2 separate regions of the Homo sapiens genome follow, and region 2 is linked to region 1. The links are contacts of gene promoters, found by promoter capture Hi-C in human tissues and cell types (Jung and others, 2019). All regions are on one chromosome and are shown on one strand. The core of a region is centred on a gene start or on the middle of the fragment in contact, and the rest is flanking DNA. Distances in the headings are between cores, read along the strand shown. Region 1 overlaps SLC7A5 (solute carrier family 7 member 5). Region 2 holds the start of JPH3 (junctophilin 3).

Region 1 (5,579 bases), core at 2,873-5,372:
CCCGAGGACTGCCTCCAGGAGTCATCTGTAATGACAGGCTGTGTTCCGCGCACGGTTTCAGAGTCTGTCCAGAGGGCCAATGCTGGGGCTGGGGCAGAGATGGTCCAAGGCCTGTGAGCTGTGCAGCTTTATAGGCAAATGACGATTGTTTACCCAGAACTGCCTGCTGGAGACAGCACAGAGGAAGTGGCCGGCAGCTTCATCAGTTCCAGGAAGCCCAGGCAGCCTGGTCCCCCAGGGTGCACCGGGCACAGCAGTTCGCACGGGGCCGGAGAGCGGCAGCTGACCACAGCAACTACAGCTGGCCCGACACCGGGCACAGGTACCAGCCCAGCCCAGTCCCGCCCAGTGCAGCCTGTGGCCCCTAGCGGAGCCAGCACCTGGCAAACCTGACACCCAGCCTTGGAGCTTGGGCCCCCCTCTGCAGCTGGCTGGGGCTCCTGAGACAGCTTCTTTGTCGGAATCCACTCGGTACGCACAGGGCCCCGAACTTGGTGGCTGCCCAGTGCACATGGGGCTTTAGTAGAACCAGTACCTTCCTCCCTGGCCCCTTCAAGTCTAAATATCCCCTGCTCTGAGTACAAGCCTCCACCTTCTCCACCGACAGACAGCCCCCACCATCTCCCGTGTCATCCCCCGGGGGAACTTATAAAAGCAGTGGTGGGGGAGGCGGATGGAAACCCAGAGCTTCTGATCAGGCAGGTCCGGGAGATGGAGACAACACATCTGCACAGAACAAGGTCCCAGGGAGGCTGGTGCTGCCGGCCTGGGGAGCGCCCCCAGCACAGGCGCGTGCTTCCCTGATGGACACGTCACCGCCCCGGGCTCCAGAAAATGAATGTGTCTGACCCAGTGACCCCTGTCCTCACCCAAGGCCAACCTCACCCCAGAATGGGCTGGAATGCCAAGCCTGCCCATGCCGGCTCCAGATCCACCTGCCTCCCTGCCACTGCTGGCCAGAGAGAGAGGTCAAAGTGGTCCGGAAACCCCAAGGAAAATGAAGCAGTTCCGGGGCAGGGAAGCAAAGGCAGCGTTCACATTTTTTTTTTTTTTGAGACGAAGTCTCGCTCTTGTCGCCCAGGCTGGAGTGCAGTGGTACGATCTTGGCTCACTGCAACCTCCGCCTCCTGAGTTCAAGCCATTCTCTCACATCTACCTCCCGAGTAGCTGCAGCCTCCGCCTCTGGGGATCAAGTGATTCTCCTGCCTCAGCCTCCTGCCTCAGTAGCTGGGATTACTGACACCTGCCACCACACCGGCCTAATTTTTGTATTTTTAGTAGAGACAAGCGTTCACCATGTTGGCCGGGCTGGTCTCGAACTCCTGACCTCAGGCGATCCGCCCACCTTGGCCTCCCAAAGTGTTGGGATTACAGGCGTGAGCCACCGCGCCTGGCCGGGATGGTCTGCTTATAATGGCTCAATTTTGATGCCCAGTCTCTGCAGAGCACAAGGCCCCACCTTTGGGCCGGACATACAGATGTCCCTGGGCAAACAGAGAGATGATCCCAAGGCCCTGGCCCCACCTGTCTGCTCAGTGTTGAAACAGATTTCTGTGAAAACAAATTACTAACAGGCTGGTGTCACATTTTCAAATTCTGTCACCAGCCCTTGAACACATGTCTTTGTACTTTTTTCCATTTTTAACCGGGGCTGAGTTACGCCCAACCACACTGTCCTGGCTGGCACGGGGGAGGAGGTGTCAGCTGCTGTCCAGAATGGGGCTGACACATTCATTTTAAACAGGCCAGGAAGATGCAGATTTGGCAAGCTCTGAAATTTGCCAACATCCCAAGTCCAGGGTAAGCAGGAGAACTGGAAAAGGGCAGCTTCTCATGTGGTCAGGTTCTCCTGACACAAGCGTCCTGGTGGATTTGGGTTTCCCAAGGGTCCTGACTCCAGGAGACCCCCAGGGCTGACAGGAAGGGCCACCGCTCCCTCTGAAACTCTGAAACCAGGCCACCCGGTGCTGAAATGCTGTGTGAACTCCGGCAAGTTCCTTTGCAGGGACTGAGCCTCCCTTTCCTGTTTCCAACAGACTGGAACAACTGCCTCCTGCTGCATGGGCGAAATACCTCGCGGACGTGTCTTACGGCGCCCCATGAAAGCATCACCATTAATCTGACCAGTCACCGCAGCATGAGTATCTTCAGGGCACAGATGAAGCCGTGGGCACCAGTGATAAGGAGTTGCCACTGCTGGCTAAGTGCGGAGCCTCACACATCTGTGGTCCGGAAACCCACGCCCCACTCCAAACCCTCTACAGCTCCAACAGTTATGCTAACAAGAAAAAGGAGTGAAAACCCGCTCCAGTCACGGTATTGTGGAGGTGGAAGGACACTTGTGGCAGCCAATCCAACACCTCCATTTTATAGCCGGGGTAAACGTAGTTCAGAGAGGTTGTCCCACTTGGTGAAAGTCACACAGCAGTTCCTGGGCGGCAAAGTGAGGACATCCAGGTCTCCTAAATCTCACCCTCGTGCTCTGGCCACTTGACTGGGATTTTCAATCCCGGCTGTCAAAGAGAAGCACCAAGTCCACTTGGGCTCCTGGCCAGCGTCCAAGCCAGTCCAACTCAACAGCAAGCGGAAGCAAATACCACACAATGAACTCGTTGAACAGACTCTGCGCTCAGGCTTAACCAGTGCACAGCCTGTACACCCGACAGGAGGATGCAGCTGTTCCAAGCTAAGGCCAGGGCCTCTCCCCAATCCCGATGGGCTCTGCAGATGCAGTGATGGAAGAATCCCTGGTGACGGGGAGCCCTTAGCTCTGAGCAGGACCTGAAGCCATCTCAGGGCTTGCACCGGCCCAGATGCTGCTGCACAAGTGCTCCAGGGGCTCCTGCCCTGCCCTCCTCACCTGCCCCCTCACCTGTCAGGGATGTTTGATTCCTGGCTGGCCCCTCCCCTACCTGACCCCTGCCAAAGACCCACGTCACCCCAGGCTTCCAGCTCTGAAGCAAACGACCAGAGAAGTCAAGCGCCTGGCTCCGGGCCACACAGCTTGAGGGACTCAGAGCTCCAGGGACAGTGCCCGGGCCCTGCTCAGGCCTTCTGCAGAGGCCCTGGGCTCTTCCAGTTGACTCAGCTCACAAGGCCCCTACACGGTAGCAGGTGAAGACAGGGCCCCAAGAACCCTCAGGCTCTGAAGCCACACATGAGAGCCGTGGACAGAATCCTGCATTGGCCTCCAGCAGCTCGAGAGCACAGGGACAAAGCTGGACTGGCCCCGGGGTCACCATGGCCTTGGTTTTGTAGCAGCTGCAGTTTGAGCACGTACACCAAAAATAAAATTCTAAGCCCCGTAACTGACTAAAGGGACCCCTCCTATTGCCAAAGGGATATTCCAAAGTTAACCTGAAAAACGAGCTCAGGTCACGATGGGAAGAGGGGGTCACACAGGCCTTGTTATACCCCCTCCCTCTGGAATTCAGGTACAGCGGACCAGCACTAACACTCAAACACAGATCTTGGCCTGGCTCAGTGGCTCATGCCTGTAATCCCAGCACTTTGGGAGGCTGAGGTGGGCAGATCACGAGGTCAGGAGTTCGAGACCAGCCCGACCAACATGGAGAAACCCCATCTCTACTAAAAATACAAAATTAGCCAGGCATGGTGGCGGCAGGCACCTGCAATCCCAGCTACTTGCGAGGCTGAGGCAGGAGAATCGCTTGAACCGGGTTGCAGTGAGCTGAGATCATGCCACTGCACTCCAGCCTGGGTGACAAAAACAAAACAAAACAAAACAAAACAAAACACAATATTCGTCTCCACAACCTCCTGTCTTACCCAGATACTCCTTTCTATTGATACCAGGTCTTTAGCTAATAACTCTTTCAACCAATTGTGAATCAGAAAATCTTTTGCCAGGCACGGTGGCTCACACCTGTAATCCCAGCACTTTGGGAAGCCAAGGTGGGCGGATCACCTGAGATCAAGAGTTCGAAACCAGCCTGACCAACATGGTGAAACCCCCGTCTCTACTAAAAACACAAAATTAGCTGGGCATGGTGGTGCATGCCTGTAGTCCCAGCTACTCGGGAAGCTAAGGCAGGAGAATCACTTGAACCCAGGAGGCGGAGGTTGCAGTGAACTGAGATCATACCACTGCACTCCAGCCCGAGTAACAAAAGCATCTCAAAAAAAAAAAAAAATACACACACACACACACACACACACACACACACACACACACACACACACACACACACACATATATATATAAAGAAAAAGGAAATCTTCGAACCCACCTGTGACCAGGAAGCCCATCCCCGCCTTGGAGTTGTCCCGCCTTTCTCGGCAGAACCAACAAATACCTTTCATGTACTGACTGATGTCTGCCTGTAACTTCTGTCCTTGTAGGAGGTATGAACTCCAGCTGTGGCCCACCCCCTGGGGCACATGTCCTCAGGGCCTCCAGGCCTTGGTCCTCACATTTGACTCCGGATAAATCTCTTCAAACATTTTACAGAGTCTGGCTTTCTCGTTAACAAGCAGCTCACACATACAGTGTCTCAGTAGTGACAGATGCTGGCCCACCCCGAGGTCAGGATGACTCAGCAGGGATCGAGTTTGCGGGCGTCACGCTCCAAGGCCCAGAATAGGAGGTCGGTGCTCATTCCTCACGTAGTGGGCAAATCCTAGGGCAGGGGAGGGGCGGGCAATGCCAGAGAACGGTCCCCACCTGGGGTGGTCTGACGGCCAGGGATGCAGGGAGAGACGCCTCCCACACTCCCGGAGGCACGCACGTGCTGTGGCCACCCCGGAGGGTCCGCCTTCCAGAGGGAGAATTCAGGATTCGGCCAGTATCAGGGAAGGAGACGCTGTGGGGGGCCCTCCTGTTGGAAAAGGGCAGCAGCGGGAAGAGGGTGCTGCCACAGGGCCTCTGGGGAGCGTGCGGGCACACAGTACCAATCTGCATGCATACACGTGTCCTGTCCCTGCAGACGGGCCAGGCAAGGCCTGCCCATGGCCAGCTATCCAGGTGATGCTCCAGGGAGGGCCAGGCCTACTGGGGGGCAGAACCCTGTGGCTGTCCAGGGTACCTGGATGTGAGTCTGGGAAGGATGGAGAAGGGTGGAGGAGCGCAAAGGGCCCCTAGGGGATGCTGGGGAACACAGATGAGCCTCTGACCCACCTGTGTCCTTACCTGGGCCGACTGGGCCACCCAGTCTTGCTGACTGACACCTCCCCAGACCCCTGGCACCCACCAGACTCCCCAGGCGTGGCTTTGTGCTCCCCTATGCCTGATGACAAATGGTGGCCTCAGTGTAGAGGTGGGCACTGTGGCCCCTGGCTCCTGGCTCGCTCCTGCCTCAGTTTCCCCAGCTGTAAATTGGGGATTATCACTGGCTTCAAAGGCTGGAGTGCAAAGTGGTGGCCAAGAGGTGGCCAAGAGGTGCCAAGAGGTGGTCCAAGAGTGTGCCCTACCTTGGACACCCCTCTCCTGGGGGTGGCTCTCAACCTGGCCTGGGCCCCCGGGGGTCTGCGCAACCCACCCTTCTGTGTGAAGGCGGCTGATACACATTTCTGGGCAAGATTCTGCACATTCTGCTGGATTATGAAAGAGGTCTGTGACC
Region 2 (5,047 bases), core at 755-3,254, 260 kb before region 1:
GAAGAAATGAAAAGTAGAACATACGAGTGGTGGCAATGTTTATTTCAACAGGCAGAGGGCTGGGTGTCTCCATGCAGGAATCCATGACCCTCCCTGGGGGGCTGGCTTCCAATAACATTACTTCCCACTTCCCGAGCGCTTACTGAGTGCTGGGCGCCTAGCTTTTGAATTCCCACGGTAACCCTATGGGAACTCTGCCATCTCCATTTTACAGATGAGAAAACTGAGCTCAGGGACATTAGGTGACTGCCCAAAGCCATACTGCTGGTGGGCCCCGGAGCCAAGGTTTCGACCCGAATCTCTTGAGGACAAGGTGCAGTTCCTTTGGCCCACACATTTACAACAGAGAAATTTCCATGGACATGAAACAGCCCAGAGATATTATTTCATACCCATTTAGATGAACAAAGTAAAATAAATGGAAAGAAAATCAGAAGTTTGAGGACACCAGTGCTGGCCAGGAAATAGAGAACCACAAACCCAGGCACACTGAAGGGTGAGAGGTCAGTTGCTCCAGGTGTTTGGAAAGCAATTTGGCAGCTTCCAATAAAGTCCAAGACGTAGCTGGTCCAATGATGCCACCGCAGACATTTAGAGAACTTCTGTAGAGGGGCACAGGGAGACAGCGCTAGAAAGCTCAATGAATCACTGTAACTGCACAAAACAAAACAAAGCCGACCGCCCTAAATGTTCCTCATTGACAGTGGGTGTATGAGGAGGTGACTGTCCTCCTGGCTGCTGGTACTCTGGGGAGGGAGCTTTGGTGCCCAAGGCAAGAGACTGAGGTTGAACTCTGGGACTCCCAGGAGGGGCTGATTTTTCTGAGAGCCCCGTGAGCCAAGAGTGGGGACCATCCTGATTCTCTCGGACAGGGGAAGATCTGAGCAGGGCTCCTGGCTGATTGGAGGCTCCGAATCGCACCTCTTCTCCTGTCCTAATCTCAGGCTCCAGGCCTGGCTTGCAGTTTCTGGCTCACCGCGCTGCGGTCACCGGCCCACACTCCCAGGAGCGAGGACCCTGGGCAGCCTCCACACCCCCATCAGCCCACTGCACCGGTCTGCTGCCATTTCCCGCACGCATTTCAGGAGGGCTGGGGACGCCGGCTTCTGCCTGAGGATTTATGGTCCAGGAAATGCATTTTAAATGGATCCCAGGATGCTCGGATCCAAGAATCAGACTCTCTCTTGTGCGTGGGAAGAGGGGCGGAGGGTGAGAGTATGTCTGGAGAGAGACCTAGAAACGCCCGAATGGCGGTCCCACTTTGCTCCCCAAAAGCGCGACCGTTCCCCGAGTGGGGGGGCGCTACCTGTTGGCCAGGGCGCAGGGCGCACGGAATTCGGGTGACTTTGCTCCAAGATACACGCGTGTGTCCCGACTCTCACTCAATTTATAGGGGAGAGGGACTCGCCAAATCCCTGTTTTCTGGGGTAAGCCCCCCTCCCCCCACTCTTGGACCCAAGCTGCCCGGAAGGAAGAAGGAAGCATTGTTTGTCACCGGAGAAAACCACCTGTGGTTTGCAAAGGGCCTCAGTCGAGTCAGGGGCAGGCGGGGCAGATCCGAGCCCGGCGGGAGGGGCGAGGCGCGGGGGCGGGCAGGGGCGAGGGTAGGGGCGCTCAGCTGGCAGGTCCTGCTCTGCAGGCCTCACCGCCCAGCTCCCGGGAGGGGGCCGAGGGCGCCCTGAGTGCTGCGCGCCTTCCCATGACGCAGTTCCTGTGCCTTTAAATCCCACTCCCGGAGGGGGCGGGGGCGCCCCGGCTGGACCCCGGTTTCCAGTCCGGCGGGGGCCCCGGGGAAGCCCAGGGCGGGGAGCGCGGGGCTGGGGGCGCGGAGGGCGGGGCGCCCGGGGTCCCCGCCCGCGCGCCGCGCCCTAGCCTGCTGGGCCGCGCCCCTCTTGGGACCGCCGCGCTCCGGGGGCGGGGGCGGGGGCGGGGGCGGGGGGCGGGGGGCGGGGGGCGGGCGGGGGCGCGCGGGCGGGCGGGGTGCGGGCGCGCGCCGCGCGGCCCGAGCGCGCGAGCCGGGCCCGGAGCGCACGCCGCCGCCGCCACCGCCGCCGCCGCCGCCCGAGCCGCCGCATTGCTGCTGCTGCTGCCGCCGCCGCCCCGCGCCCGGCCCGCGGCCCCCAATATGGTGCAGCCGCCAGCGCCGCCGCCCGTGCCGCCGCCGCCGCCCGCGGGCCCCGCCGCCGCCCTCGGGCGCCCGCAGCGCGGCAGCCGCAGGTGGGGGGCCGCGGCCCGGGCCTGAGCTGCCCCCCGCCCGGCCTCGGCGCGGCGCCCTCCCCGCGGGGCTGCCGGCGAGGGGCCCTCTCGCCGCTGAGGTGGAGCCGCGGGCCCCGCCGCCGCCGCTCCTGCCCCCTCCCTCCCTCCTCCCCTCCCCCTCCCCTCCGGTCCTGTCTCCAGCGGGAGCGCGAGACGCTGGTCAGGCTCCGCGGCGCAGCTCGAAAAGGAATAATCGCCCCCGATTGACTGAAATTCCTCCGGAGCCGGCGCCGCGGCCGCCCGCGCCCGAGACCGCGCTCCGGGGCCGCGTCCTCCTCTCCTCCGGAAAACGCTCGCGACCCAGGGCCGCCGGCGGCCGCGACTCTGCTGTGTCGATCGCCTGAGTCCGTTTTCACCGTTTGCGGGATCTGGAACCGAGTTACATGCATGTCCAGTGGGGGCAGGTTTAATTTTGACGACGGAGGGTCCTACTGTGGAGGCTGGGAGGACGGCAAGGCGCACGGCCATGGCGTCTGCACCGGCCCCAAGGGCCAAGGCGAATACACCGGCTCGTGGAGCCACGGCTTCGAGGTGCTGGGCGTCTACACCTGGCCCAGCGGCAACACGTACCAGGGCACCTGGGCGCAGGGCAAGCGCCACGGCATCGGCCTGGAGAGCAAGGGGAAGTGGGTGTACAAGGGCGAGTGGACGCACGGATTCAAGGGGCGCTACGGGGTGCGGGAGTGCGCGGGCAACGGGGCCAAATACGAAGGGACCTGGAGCAACGGGCTGCAGGACGGCTACGGGACCGAGACCTACTCGGACGGAGGTAGGTGCCGCGGGCCGGGCCGGGCCGGGGCGGGAGGGACGTGCTTCCGATCGCGCCCCTTCTGTGGATCTCTGGGGAAGTTGAGCTGCGTCCTCCGGTTGGGCCGTGGGCACCAGGGGCCTTTCCCGGGCTTCCCTGGAAGCCACGGCGGCTCCTGGCTACAGGTTGCCCCGCTGCCTGGTGGGGACAGTGCCCCTGTGCCAGCTGAAGGGTGTTGGGGGCTTTCCAGGGGCAGAGCCAGGCGGGGCCCAGCAGAGCCTCCGTGCGTCGGACACAGCAGGCCGGAGACCTGCGGGAAGGGCCAGGCTGGGCCCGCGGCCCTGGGGAACCCAGCAAGGGCAGAGGGGGCTGGGAGAAGGGCCCCTCCCCTTGTTGGCTTTGCCCCCCACCCTGGAGGCCGCCCTTCGATCAGGCCCCAGCTTCGCTTCTGGTGTTCCTGCGGCGCCCGAGGGCCTTCCTCAGCCCCGAATCTGCCCAAGCCGAGAGAAAGGGAGTGATGGGGAGCGCTAGGGGCGGGGGATGCCAACCCGAACCAAAACAGCCAGGCAGTACACTTCTAGGTGGTTGGACGCGGACTAGCGCTGTCGAAGCAGGCTGCTGGAGGGAGGAGGGAGGCCCATCTGCTCAGTGAGAGCCCAGGAATCTCGTCTTTCAGTGGCTGCATCGTTTTCACCATTAGTTGAGGGAATCGATCTGTGCCTTCATTCTAAGATGCCACCGCATTCGGGGCAGAGCCGGGGCCGGAAGCCAGGGAGCTGCCTGCTGCTGCTGCTGCTGCTGCTGCTGCTGCTGCTGCTGCTGTAAGATGGTTTCTGTGCAGGGAACCTTGGCCGGCTCTGCAGCTGCCCGCCTGCCTGGACTCTCCGATATCCACTCCTCAGTGCACCTGACACGCATGGAGCCGGTCCTTTCCTGGAAGCCAGACCCCAAACAAACTGGCTTCCCCGACCAGTCCACTCCCATGTGGGAGCTTATCCTCAGAGGCACTGGGTCCTCTGCCTCCCTCGGGCGGCTCGCCTGTTTCAGGCATGGATGCCTGGGAAGGGAGTGAGACGCAGCAATGACTTGTGCTTCTGCCGAGAATAAAAATCCTGAGCGTACGTGTGCTCTAGTCCTCCCCGCCCGCTCGCTGCCTCCGAGTCTCATGAAGAAAGCTCGGAACACCTGCTCCACGGCCACATCCAGGAGTGGCAGGGGGCTGGAGAGTAATTATTATTTTGGCTTATGCAACTGAAAAGCAGGGTTCGTTATTACCCGAAGAGGAGGAGGAGTCTGGGGCAGTTAATTATATAATGCTCCTGCCTGTCAAAGCCGTGCCCAGCCCCGGTCTCAGGCGGCCTTTTCTGTGCCGTTGTTGTTTTCATGGAGCAGGTTGGAGAGCTTCCCTGACCCTGGGGCGCTGAGGGCCGGGCGGGAGCAGACGGTGCTCCCTTGGTTCCAGGCTGTGGGCCTGTGTGTGTGTGTGCGCGCGCGTGCAGGCACAGGGAGGCCCGGGCAGCAGATGTGGGTGGCTGAGACAGGCAGGCAGCCTGGCGCTTCCAGCTGGGCTGTTTGGAGCCCAGGGGCTGCTATCACCCCCAGGCTCTGGCCAGGAGGCTCTGCAGACCTGTCCTCCAGAGGTGCTCCTGGCTGAGCCTGCTCCAGGAGGACTGTGCAGGCCGGGCTCACGCAGGGCATGGGGACGAGAGGAGCCAGGGCTTTCGTTGTCTCTGAAACTCCTCAGAATATCTGGGGGTGAGGCTGAGCACCCCACTCTGCCCACGCTCCTCAGACATCTCCAGAGTCCTGAGGAATCATTTCTTTCATTCAACAAATACTGATGGAATGTTTGCTATGAGCCAGGTGTGCCAGGCTCTGGGAAAACCACACTGAGCAAAGCAGACAGCCAGGTGTCCTAGGCTTTGGAAAAACCACACTGAGCAAAGCAGACACAGATCTTTGCCCTCACGGAGCTTACATTTGAGGGAGAAGGAGCGGCGATTATGTTGTGACTTTTTAGGGAAGAAAGGATCTGATTCTGTG

What was found. Contacts are between HindIII fragments. The study calls those that stand out against the background at their distance.
Region 2: a contact is called between the fragment with the promoter of JPH3 here and a fragment that was not itself captured in region 1, in 1 of the 25 tissues and cell types used here (H1 embryonic stem cells).

What each region holds. Positions count from the first base shown.
Region 1 is chr16:87,856,187-87,861,765 of GRCh38, forward strand. All of the region lies in intron 1 of SLC7A5 (solute carrier family 7 member 5), which reads right to left. Among named protein-coding and RNA genes, the nearest start is that of MIR11401, 5.1 kb to the left of the region's middle. RefSeq lists an enhancer at 4,319-5,076. The HindIII fragment of the contact is 9,544 bases long and covers 1-5,579 here.
Region 2 is chr16:87,600,504-87,605,550 of GRCh38, forward strand. JPH3 (junctophilin 3) reads left to right here and starts at 2,005. Exons shown (of 5, transcript NM_020655.4): 1 at 2,005-3,025. The coding sequence starts at 2,644. LOC124903750 (a long non-coding RNA gene) reads right to left here and starts at 1,680. Exons shown (of 2, transcript XR_007065172.1): 1 at 1,509-1,680; 2 at 22-602. RefSeq lists an enhancer at 544-1,106. The HindIII fragment of the contact is 15,663 bases long and covers 1-5,047 here.